Regions from separate parts of the Homo sapiens genome. Here regions 1, 2 and 3 are each linked to region 4. Evidence: promoter capture Hi-C in 16 types of primary human blood cells and fetal thymus (Javierre and others, 2016). All regions are on one chromosome and are shown on one strand. Each heading gives the region's core, a stretch centred on a gene start or on the middle of the fragment in contact. The rest is flanking DNA. Distances are from core to core; before and after follow the strand shown.

What was found. Contacts are between HindIII fragments. The CHiCAGO score rates a contact against its expected background, and 5 or more counts as called.
Region 1: a contact is called between a fragment that was not itself captured here and the fragment with the promoter of TRMT9B in region 4, in 1 of 17 cell types (endothelial precursors). The highest score is 8.5, in endothelial precursors.
Region 2: a contact is called between a fragment that was not itself captured here and the fragment with the promoter of TRMT9B in region 4, in 1 of 17 cell types (erythroblasts). The highest score is 5.1, in erythroblasts.
Region 3: a contact is called between a fragment that was not itself captured here and the fragment with the promoter of TRMT9B in region 4, in 10 of 17 cell types (M2 macrophages, megakaryocytes, endothelial precursors and 7 more). The highest score is 15.1, in M2 macrophages.

The regions. Positions count from the first base shown.
Region 1 is chr8:13,678,494-13,681,193 of GRCh38, reverse strand. No RefSeq gene overlaps it. Among named protein-coding and RNA genes, the nearest start is that of C8orf48, 110 kb to the right of the region's middle. The HindIII fragment of the contact is 9,349 bases long and covers 1-2,700 here.
Region 2 is chr8:13,550,439-13,553,138 of GRCh38, reverse strand. It overlaps a transcript of DLC1 not described here. Among named protein-coding and RNA genes, the nearest start is that of C8orf48, 15 kb to the left of the region's middle. The HindIII fragment of the contact is 2,215 bases long and covers 232-2,446 here.
Region 3 is chr8:13,658,003-13,660,702 of GRCh38, reverse strand. No RefSeq gene overlaps it. Among named protein-coding and RNA genes, the nearest start is that of C8orf48, 92 kb to the right of the region's middle. The HindIII fragment of the contact is 2,528 bases long and covers 141-2,668 here.
Region 4 is chr8:12,944,173-12,947,013 of GRCh38, reverse strand. TRMT9B (tRNA methyltransferase 9B (putative)) reads right to left here and starts at 1,341. Exons shown (of 5, transcript NM_020844.3): 1 at 1,048-1,341. The HindIII fragment of the contact is 4,153 bases long and covers 1-2,841 here.

The sequences.
Region 1 (2,700 bases), core at 191-2,690, 730 kb before region 4:
CGGACACGATGGCTTATGCCTATAATCCCAGCACTGTGGAAGGCTGAGGTGGGTGGATCACCTGAGGTCAGGAGTTCAAGACCAGCCTAGTCAACATGGTGAAACCCCATCTCTACTAATAATACAAAAATCAGCCGGGTGTGGTGGCAGGTGCCTGTAAATCCCAGCTACTCAGGAGGCTGAGGCACAAGAATCACTTGAACCCGAGAAGCAGAGGTTGCAGTGAGCTGAGATCACACCACTACACCCCAGCCAGGCAACAGAGTGAGACTCTGTCTCAAAAATAAAAAATAAGATTATATATATATGTATATATATTAGAATGTGTATTATCTGAAGGTTAACACAAATCTATTAAGTACATGGAAGGAGTTCATGACTACATAAATAGTTTTTGTTTGACAGCAAGCAGGAAACATACACCTAAAAAAATAAGTGGGTTTAATGTCTTCAGTAACTTATTAGAAAGATTAATAAAGAAATATTTCCAAAAATTGAATATATTTTAAGAATAAAATTGATTTACCTCTATTACTTGTTTCTTCTATTTCAAGAAATAACACTAATCTGTTAATAACATGGGAATTTCCCCCCTATTTCTTGATATGATGCTGTCTACAACTAAGATACAGATTAAGACTCACTGAATGCTCCCTTATGAGAATAAAAATGCACAGTACATTTTGTAGAAGATTAGTGTTTCGCATCATGACTTTACTAAATTTTAAGTGTTCCAGGATAGATATGTGGATAATGCATGGCAGCTTCCAATGAGCTTGCTTTCTGGTAGAAACAAGGAGCTTCTCTTCTCTTTACTACTTCTTGGTGGTATTCTCCATTTTACTCTCATGAAACTTTTCCTCAGGAAGCCTGCATTCTTTACAGTAGTGGACAATAGAAGAGAATGGTTCATTAAATTAATATTGTTACCAAATATTGCTACTACGACGTCCACTCCACTCTACCACATACCCCAGCCAAAATATCTCATTTCGTGAACTGATAGATGAGGGACAGATGATAGACAAAATTTTGCTTTTTACTTTAAATTTTTTAATTTACTTCTAACCATTTACCATTTGACATTACAAAAACTCTACATGTGTCATCACCATAATCCTATGTAAAAGGACTTTTGTAAAGCCCTGTTATGTAGGATTATAGTGATGACTCCTGTATTTCAAATTGGCCCTTTTTTCAAGCCCTACAGTTTCTCTTTTTTCCCCTCAAAGTACTATGTTTATTACACTATAGAGTAGTATTTTACACATTAGCTCATTTTATAGTAAAAACATCTATGTACAACTGTAGAGAAACTGCTGCACAGATAACTCCAACTCAAATTAGAAAATATTTTCTCCGTAGAAAATAGTAAAAATTGTAACGTTTACCAAGCTAGCCCAACAAGTTCATTTAAACCAAATAGTAGCTAAATACATTATACATTTATTAATACAAGTTGAATTCTGAGATCCAGGAGAAACTTCAGTTTCGTTTATTGAAACAGCCATGTTTTAACTTATGTGAAGTGAAATTTCCATTAATCTTCTCTTTTACTCTTAATGTATGCCCGATTGTTTTTCTTTATGCTAAATCCATAATCCACAACCAGGTTTTAGCTTTTCTCTTCTAAAGGAAAGGCAACATATCCTTTTAATCTGCTTGATAAGGTACCCATGGCTATCCCAATAATGAAATGGTTCGATTGTTCTTAAAGCAGTCCCAGTATTTGGGCAAAACTAGAATCTAATAAATTACACTGTCACCTAATACCCATGGCTTGACGGGAAGCCATGAGTAACAAGGGTAAAGTGATAAAACCGCAAGTGGATCAAGGAATAAAAGCCAAGAGAATTCTGAGAGCAGAGGGCAAGAAACATCTAGTCATGATTGAAGGACAGAACTGAAGTTCAAAGAGAAAAAGGATGTCGCCTCAAGGATCAGGAGCTGAGCTGGCTGTCAGAGCCCTTAGTACATGTTGATAAAATAAGGGGCAGTTAGAGATAAAGACTGGATTAAGCAAGAAAAACCAGGACCTAGAAAGATTCTAGGTGTTCACAATAATTCAGTGAAAACAAGACAGACCATGTGGCTTTAAATATCCTAGCATAGTATGTTCCAGGATTCCCAGTACAGAAAAAATCTCTGGAAATTAAGGCGAGAAGATAATACCACTCTTAAGCTCCTGTGCTATGTATGTTTCCCAGATAAATAATACCTGAGAAATCAGGCAGAGTTATCTGGCCAAGAAGTCCTACAGTTTCTTACCCTCTAGAATAATGATCCATAGTGAGAATCAAAATGGGTGAGAGACGTGTGAGAATGAAGAAAAGCATAGCCGCCCAACCACAGGTGCACTTTCAGGCAGATCAATTTAAGAAAAATACGCATATCAAGTTCCAATAAGACTATCATTACAAGGTTGAGTTCTCTCAAAAACAACTTGGAGATGAAGTTTGTGGTATTAGAAGTTTATTAGCAAATGTAATCAAAATCAGTGTGGGGAAACAGGAAGACACCAGATGGGGCAGAGGGAAACACAGAGCTGTGATGTCAATTAGGCAACAGCCTCAGGCAACCATGTGGGGAACACAGGAGATCAAGTTCTTGCCAATCCTAGGAAGGGTATGGCCCCAAGTAAGAGGGTCGCTTCCCAGAAGACAGGACAACAAGCCTTTCCTCGATTACAGATGGGGATGA
Region 2 (2,700 bases), core at 90-2,589, 610 kb before region 4:
AATAGCACACTAGTGACCAATGCTGTCAAGGTTTAGGTGTGTTTGCAGTCTCTGTGTGTTGATAACTATTGCATTAATGAAACTAATATTTTGTAAGCTGAAGTAACAAGCTTTTAGTATAATATTCCTATTCCTAATTCTGTGATTAACCAATGAAAGCTAAATTTCTTCCAAACATACTGCTTTTCCATAAAATTAAATAATTTCTTCTAATGTACCAAATAAGAAGCTTCATTGTGAAATACATATTAATGCTCTCTAGAAAAGATTTAGTTTATGTGTTTTCTGTGATCATTTTCTTTCACTTAGACTTTGTACTTTCTTTTAATAAGAGAATATGACAATACATGTGAGTTTTTCAAAAAATAAAAAAATACAAAGTTCAGTCTCATTTTCTTGCATTTAAAAAATATGACAAAACCCTTTAAAAAACATTTTCCTGTAGTAATTTTGTTGTTGCTTTTCTCTTATTCCATTGTTAATATTCTCAGAAATTAATACTCTATGAACACATTTCTAGTACATAGTATAGAACAGTGGTCTTTAATTAGTCATTTATATAACTGCCCAACAGAACTTTGGAAAAATATATATTCACTCATGTTTTTAAGGTTACAGCTGATACTTCTATCATAAGATTAAATAGTTGGGAATGATAGAATTTCTAGTTTTTTATTGTATATATATTTTTATTTATTTTCATCAAAATATTGAATCTGAAAATTTAGCTTATTCAATTTATTAAAACTTTGTCCATAAATAATTTACTGGCAAATCCAATTTTCATTATTAACCAATCAGTCAGATCCAATAAACATGCTAATATGCTTCCTTTAGAATTATTTCACTTCCAAGTTCTACCTTGTATATAGGTATATATGTAGACAGGTATGGGGGTATATATATATATATCTGTCTAGACAGGTATATATATACACCTCTAGACAGGTATATATATACACCTCTAGACAGATATATATATGTACCTCTAGACAGATATATATATATATATATATATATATATATACACCTCTAGACAGGTACATACATATATATAGAGAGAAAGAGGTATATATATATATGTGTATATATATATATACACACACACATATATATATACACACACATATATATGCACACACACACATATATATACACACACACACATATACATATACACCTGTCTAGAGGTACATATATATACCTATATACTGTCTAGAGGTACATATATATATATATATGTATATATACCTGTCTATATATATATATATACACACACTTGTCTAGAGGTGCATATATATACCTGTCATACACATATATACCTGTCTAGATATATACCTAGATATAGATACATATATGTTTGATAGATACATATGTTTGATATAGAAACATATGTTTGATAGATATAACTACATATGTTTGATAGATACATATGTTTGCCTTGCCAAAAGTTTTTCATCTAGATAAAATAAGATGTCTCACCTTCAATCATTTCATACTGAACCTCTCTTTGATTTGTTCTCAAAGGACCTTAACATGCCTTATGCAGCACTCCAGAAGTTTTATAGTTGAGAGCAATGCACCTTAGTAACACTGCAGATGAATGAGAGATTATTTGTTAAGTGGGGAAAATGCTATTGTGAAAGAGGTTGGAGGGAAAGAGAGAGTAATCCTTCACCCATGATCAACCCATAGACTCGTTCTTAGGCAAATTAGTTTTAGGAAACAGAGATATGGAAATTCATAATAAAAATTCAAAATCTAGAACTAGATCCCTTAAAACTGTCTGAACCCACATATATCTGGAAAATTTTTATGTACTCCCAGAGATATGTGTGCACATACTGAAGACTGTGATTTAGAACAATGCATGCTAGATTGAACATCTAAAAGCTACATTCTTTGTTTTGGCCGACTACAACTGACTTTTCTGTGTAAATCATTTAACTCACCAAGTATTAATTATAGTTTTGCAAAGTAAGGGATTTTGGCTAAGGTAATATTTTCCAAAGAGTTTTCAAATGAATATTCCTCACAAAGTGTTCTTTGGAAAAAAAAAAAAAGTGTGTGTGTGTGTGTGTGTGTGTGTGTTTAAAGAAATCTGAGGAGTGCTGTTAAATGTGCTTTTTGTGGAAAGTAAAATACACATTGGTAGAGTAAACTCACTGAGAATTCTTGCAAGAGAAAAACATATTTAACTTCATTTAACCCATTGATTTCTAGGCTATTTGACCATACATGATTATTCTTTTTTAATCGTAGCTAATAGCACCATTAAGGGCTACTGTTCTAAGGAAGATACTTCAAGAATCTGAGCCAGAGTTTTCTGAGACTCTTTCTAGCCATACAGCTCCGTGATTTAATATGGAACATGTAGCTTGATTCCAGTAGTAACTGCAGTAACTGGTCTTCTTAAATGATTCGTCCATTCAGCAGTGTTTAAGCTTTAATTAAAGATAACACAAGCTGCTCTGGAAAGAGCTAAAATAATATACATAATGATATTTTGTTTTAAGATTCTATTATTTTATTTCTTTTCTACTTATACAAAATGCTCCTGCAGAAAACCATATGCCTCCGTATATATTTCTTTACTATGGGGTATGAGTGAGACTTACCTTCCTTTTGACTTTTAAAATTCGAATTGCCTGTATATAGCTCAAGAAGACCATGCAAAAATTCTGTATTAGTCTTCTCACA
Region 3 (2,700 bases), core at 155-2,654, 710 kb before region 4:
TCATCTGCCCACTTTACTCTCAGCTTAAAGCAGGTTAAAAGATGACATCCAATCACATACTAATTTGAGGCACTAAATAGGCCGGATTTTTCTTTAGATACCCACCAAACAAAGCAGAATAATTTGCAGACAAAGAAGCTTGAAAAAAGAGATTCTTCAACTATACCAATTTCCTCCTCAACATTATTTCTTCCTGGAAATGATGTTCACACATCTTGATGTGTCTTACTTAAGCATAATTGACAAGTGTCATAATTAGATCATTCCAACTCTTCCACAAGAAAAGATACCTTTTAAAGAATATCACTGGGTAGATGTCAAAGTATACATTTCTGTAAGAGGAGATTGGACTAGGCATCTCTCATAACTAATTTGGTTGAATTTTACAAAAATCCTTGAGCTTTCTTCAATAAATGAGAAAGTCACTTTGTAATTAGATTCTTATTTCTATTCAATATGAGGGTCATGCCATGTTCCCTGACCTGGGATGGAGAACAAATGAACAAAAGAGATAAACCTCTGTCTTAATTGCAATTATCTTCTGCATCTCAATCCTCTCCCTAAATTTATTCATTTTGATTCCAATGTTTTCAAACAAAAGAGAAATCACAGGGCTTCTCTGCTTTACCTTCCCATAAATTAAACCAAAAAATTAATGAACACACACTGAACTACAGGATGGTAGATTTTTTTTTCTGCTCTAAAATATGAGGAAATTCTGGCGGGACAAGGTGGCTGATGCTTGTAATCCCAGCACTTTGGGAGGCCGAGGCGGCCGGATCACCTGATGTCGGGAGTTTCAGACCAGCCTGACCAACATGGAGAAACCTCGTCTCTACTAAATATACAAAATTAGCCAGGCATGGTGGTACATGCCTGTAATCCCAGCTAGTCGGGAGGCTGAGGCAAAAGAATCTCTTGAACCTGGGAGGTGGAGGATGAGGTGAGCAGAGATTGCACCATTGCACTCCAGCCTGGGCAACAAGAGTGAAACTCCGTCTTAAAAAAAAAGGAAATTCTTAATGGAATGGTAATTATGGTTATAATTACCATTCCAAGACTTTAGATGTTTTCTCTATCTTTAATAGAATGTTATTATAAGTTGTATATTTACAAATTTCAAAGATATACAGTGATTAAAATGCAAATTCATTAGGACACTTATGAAACCTTTAAAAGAAGGCTGGGTTGCACTCCGGCATAAAAAAAATGCCACAAGGTGGCACTCCTTCTTAATGTTAGACTCTTTAAAAACAAATAAATTATTCTGAATTGTGTTAGATTTCCAGACTAAGACTGACGTTTCACCATATTATTCTAATCTCCAATAATTGCATTAGCTTGGTGTTTTGTGAGGTTAGTTGATTCATTTTAAGTGACCTAAAGCAGTTATTGTACCACAAGTTTTAATAAATGCGTTTCATGACAATGATGCTACCAGGCATTTCTGAATATGAAGCACATTGGTTAAAGAAACATCTCAATAGACAAAGCACAGGCTCTGGAGCCAGAAGTCTCGGGTTTGGGTTTCGTCTTTTTTAATTTATTCTCTGAATAAACTGAAAACATGCTAAACTTAATGAGTCACAATTAACTCATCTAGAAAATGATTATCATTGAGCATTCCTCATCGTTGCACATTGCCCTGTTCATTAAATTACATAATGTACAGAAACACTGAACGTAATAGGTTTTTTGAAAGCTGTACCCTCATGCACACATACCCTAAAATGCTGGTACTTGTGTAACTTGTCTTTATAATTTTGTATATATTATCTGAAATAAATATTTTACAATAATTTGTGTAAGGCTTTTTAACACAAAACTTCTTTGAGCTGGCTGTGGTGGTGCATGCCTGTAATCCCAGCTGCTTGAGAGGCAGAGGTAGAAGGATTGCTTGAACCCAAGAATTTGAGACCAGCCTGGGTGTCACAGCAAGTGCTCATCTCTAAACAACAACAACAAAAAATAATAAAAATAAAACAAAGAAAACCTTTTCTTTAAATTATTAAACCAAGAAAAACATCTATATCATATTTAGGATATTATGAAAATCGACATGATATTTAGCCAAATTTTTGAGTGCCTACTATATGCCAGGCACCTGTATTCCAGGTGCTCAAGACAAACAGTGAACAGAGAGCAACATCTGCCTAGCAGGAAGTAGTCAATAAATGGAAATAGAAGACGAAGTCGTGTGACAGGCAGTGAAGTAGTGTAGGATAGCCAAGAAGGCTTCCTGAGAGATGATATTTGCACCAAAATCTCAATGCTGACAAAATGACAACCTTGCTAAAATTAAGAGAAAGAGAAATTGAAGAACAAGTTGCTGCAAAGGTCCTGGCAATGCAATTCTCTTTCACTGACAACAGGAAGAAAAGAAAGTTTGAATGTGGAAAGAGTCGTGAATCAATCAAAGAGTGGAGAGAGAAAAGCTGGAAATGTGGGTAAGAACCAGGTCATACAGGCTGTTGAAGGTCTTATGAGCAGCTTAGATTGTATTCTGAGATTAGATAGCTCTGGGGTTTTAAACTGAAGCGTGATTTAATTGTACTATTGTATGTGTATTTTGGATTCATAAACATGAACATGATATAAACAAAAAATGATGAATTGATGATGAAATGCATTGCTTAGTTATATTGCTTAATAATTCCCAAACTAAGCTTGTTCATAACTAGAAACATTTTACTTTCTGAA
Region 4 (2,841 bases), core at 92-2,591:
GTAGCCATCTCCTAAATCCTAAACCCTTCAGTTCTTCAGCCATTTTGCTGCTAGAAAGTGTGTAGCTGCTGCCTTTATCCAAGGAACTGATATCTTCCACACCTCTGAAACCTGGAAGACCTTCTCAAGGTACATAGGGAACTTCCTGGCATTGGGAATAGGATGGTTTCTTCTCTTATAGGGTTTTATGCACCAAAAAGAGAAATGCCACTTCTTCTCTTTCTTCCTGAACTTTTAAAAAAGTAGTCCTGCCAAGTCTCATCATTTCTCAAGCACCTGTCCTTGGTCCTCTGCTTTTCTCTCTATATAATCTCCCTAGACAACCTCATCCACCTTTCTAACTGCAAGGAAAAACGCTGTGTAGATTTCTCAAAATTCTGTTTCTCTGAATTGGTCTTCTCATAAACCTGCAGATCCCATGCTCTCATCTTGCTTGACATCTCCACCAGGGTGACATCAACACATTCGAACCTGAGGTCCTTCGCCCTCCGTGCACCTAAAGCAGCTGCCCTTTTCTTTCTTCTACAATCTCCGTCCTCCCAGTCACCTGGCACATTCTTAGACTCTGCTTCTTCTTGCCCTTCATAGCCCATGGGTGACCACCGTCTGACAATTTTGTATCTGTACTGCTTTTATTTATCAACTCTGCTCCCTTCTTATTGTTTCTATTCTAGTTCTTTATGTCCCATTACTTCCCACCTAGATGATTACACTAATTGCTTAATCTGCTCTTCTGATTGCCAAGGCCGTCTCTTCCATAAAAGATAATTCCAGACAAAAAGCTATTGTCTAGATTAATCTTTCTGTCCTAAGAATGTATCAGTTCTTGATCTAGATGCTTCTTACATTTATCACTAACCTTTGTATAAAGTATTATTTTATTCAACAAAGATTCATTGCTGAGCAGTCTGTGAGAAAAGCAATGGGGAGCAAAACAGATAAGATATCTACCCTCATGGCACTTATAGTCTCGTGGGATGACAAACATTAATCAACTAATCACAAATATCACAACTAAAATGTGCAACCCCAAATTGCAACACATACCTTGAAGGAAGACTGCAGAGTTGCTAGGAGAGCTCACAGGTTTCATCACTTTCCCAGAGGGAGGACTGTGTAGGATTCAGCCTTAGATCCTGAAAGTCTAGTCCAGAGCCCTGCACATGGAAGTACTGAATAAGTTGAAGGAACATATGCATCAAGAAAAAAAATTCAAAACAAACTAACAAAAAACACAAAAAATGAAAAAAGAATAAAACAAAGAAAAAAAGCCAAAAGAACATGTGCATCTACTTCTGACATATACATGTGTGATCTTTTCTGTACTACACAATACTGAATAAAACACACACCGGATGTTCCCTCAAATACTGACCTCAACACATAGCCACGTTAGCTGTTTGCTTTTGTTTCCATGACCACATGTCCATGGGGCATCTAATCTCTAAATACACCCTATTTTCTTTGCCAGCATGACAACATGTAGAAACTTGTTATCCTGGTAGCATTACCAAGAATAATTGTTGCTTTATGGTGAAAGTTTTTAGGCATGCTTTAATACTTTGCTGTTATCACCAACACAAACCCATCATCCCTCTTCCCTACAGTTTGGAATGTTTGCTGAAGATGTCAAACAACATTGTTTCTTTTGCCCCTTGGGAAACTGGTTCATCCTCCAGCTGTCCTTTGTGTCATTCGCCAGCTTCCTCTCCATTTCCAAAGCTGTTTGAGTATTACCTCTTCATCCTCATGCTCTTACCTTTTGTCTGTCACTCTTTCATCATTCTGCTATTATGATCACGTAATTTTTGGAGTCAGCTTTTCGCTGGAACACTGAGTGACACATATCACTTGGCTTATTTTATCTCTTTTTTTTTCTTTTTACAATACTATTAGATAATTTGTTTCAAGAAGCACTTTTGTGCATAGAATCTCAGGTCTGATTTGGGTGTGTGTGTTGTTTGTTTCCAGCTTTGAATGAACAAGGACTGGAAAAGATGAGCTTATTTGTCATGGTAGGAAAAGAAAAACTGCAAAAAAATACAATAAATTTCACCAACAGAGAATGTGTTATATAAATAAGGGAGCAACTACATGTTAAAAAATGCAGAGCCATGATCCTGAAGACAATTTAATGACCTGGAGATACAATGCAGTGTTAAATAAAAAGCAGTTTCACCCCAATATTTTAACATTATATAGTATATTTACATATATGTAGGGGAAAATGCTGGACAACCATACAAAAATGTGACTAGTGATTTTCTCTAGGTGATGGAATTTTATTTTCATATATATATATATATATATATATATACTTTTTTTTTTGAGAGAGGCAGACTTGCTCTGTCCCTCAGGCTGGAGTGCAGTGGTGCAATCTCAGCTCACTGTAATCTCTGACTCCCAGGTTCGAGTGATTCTCCTTCCTCAGCCTCCCAAGTAGCTGGAATTACAGGCGCGTGCCACCAGGCCTGGTTAATTTTTTTGTATTTTTAGTAGAGACAGGGTTTCACCATGTTGGTCAGGCTGGTTTCAAACTCCTGACCTCAGGTGATCCACCCACTTTGGCCCCCCAAAGCGCTGGGATTACAGGCATGAGCCACCACACCTGGCCTCTTCTATATATTTTTTAAAGGGAAGGGGATTCTATGCAGTTTGCGAGCAAAGCATATCCCTATTTATAGCCACAACTCTTGTCTCATAAATTTTATTGCTATTTCATCACTGCTCTTACCAATGAAATATGTGAGGAGCAGTACCAACATAGTACTCTTTCGTTCTCTTTATTATTATTTTAAATTCTCAAGTGCAAAAGTACGAGAAAGTCCAATTGTTTCAAGT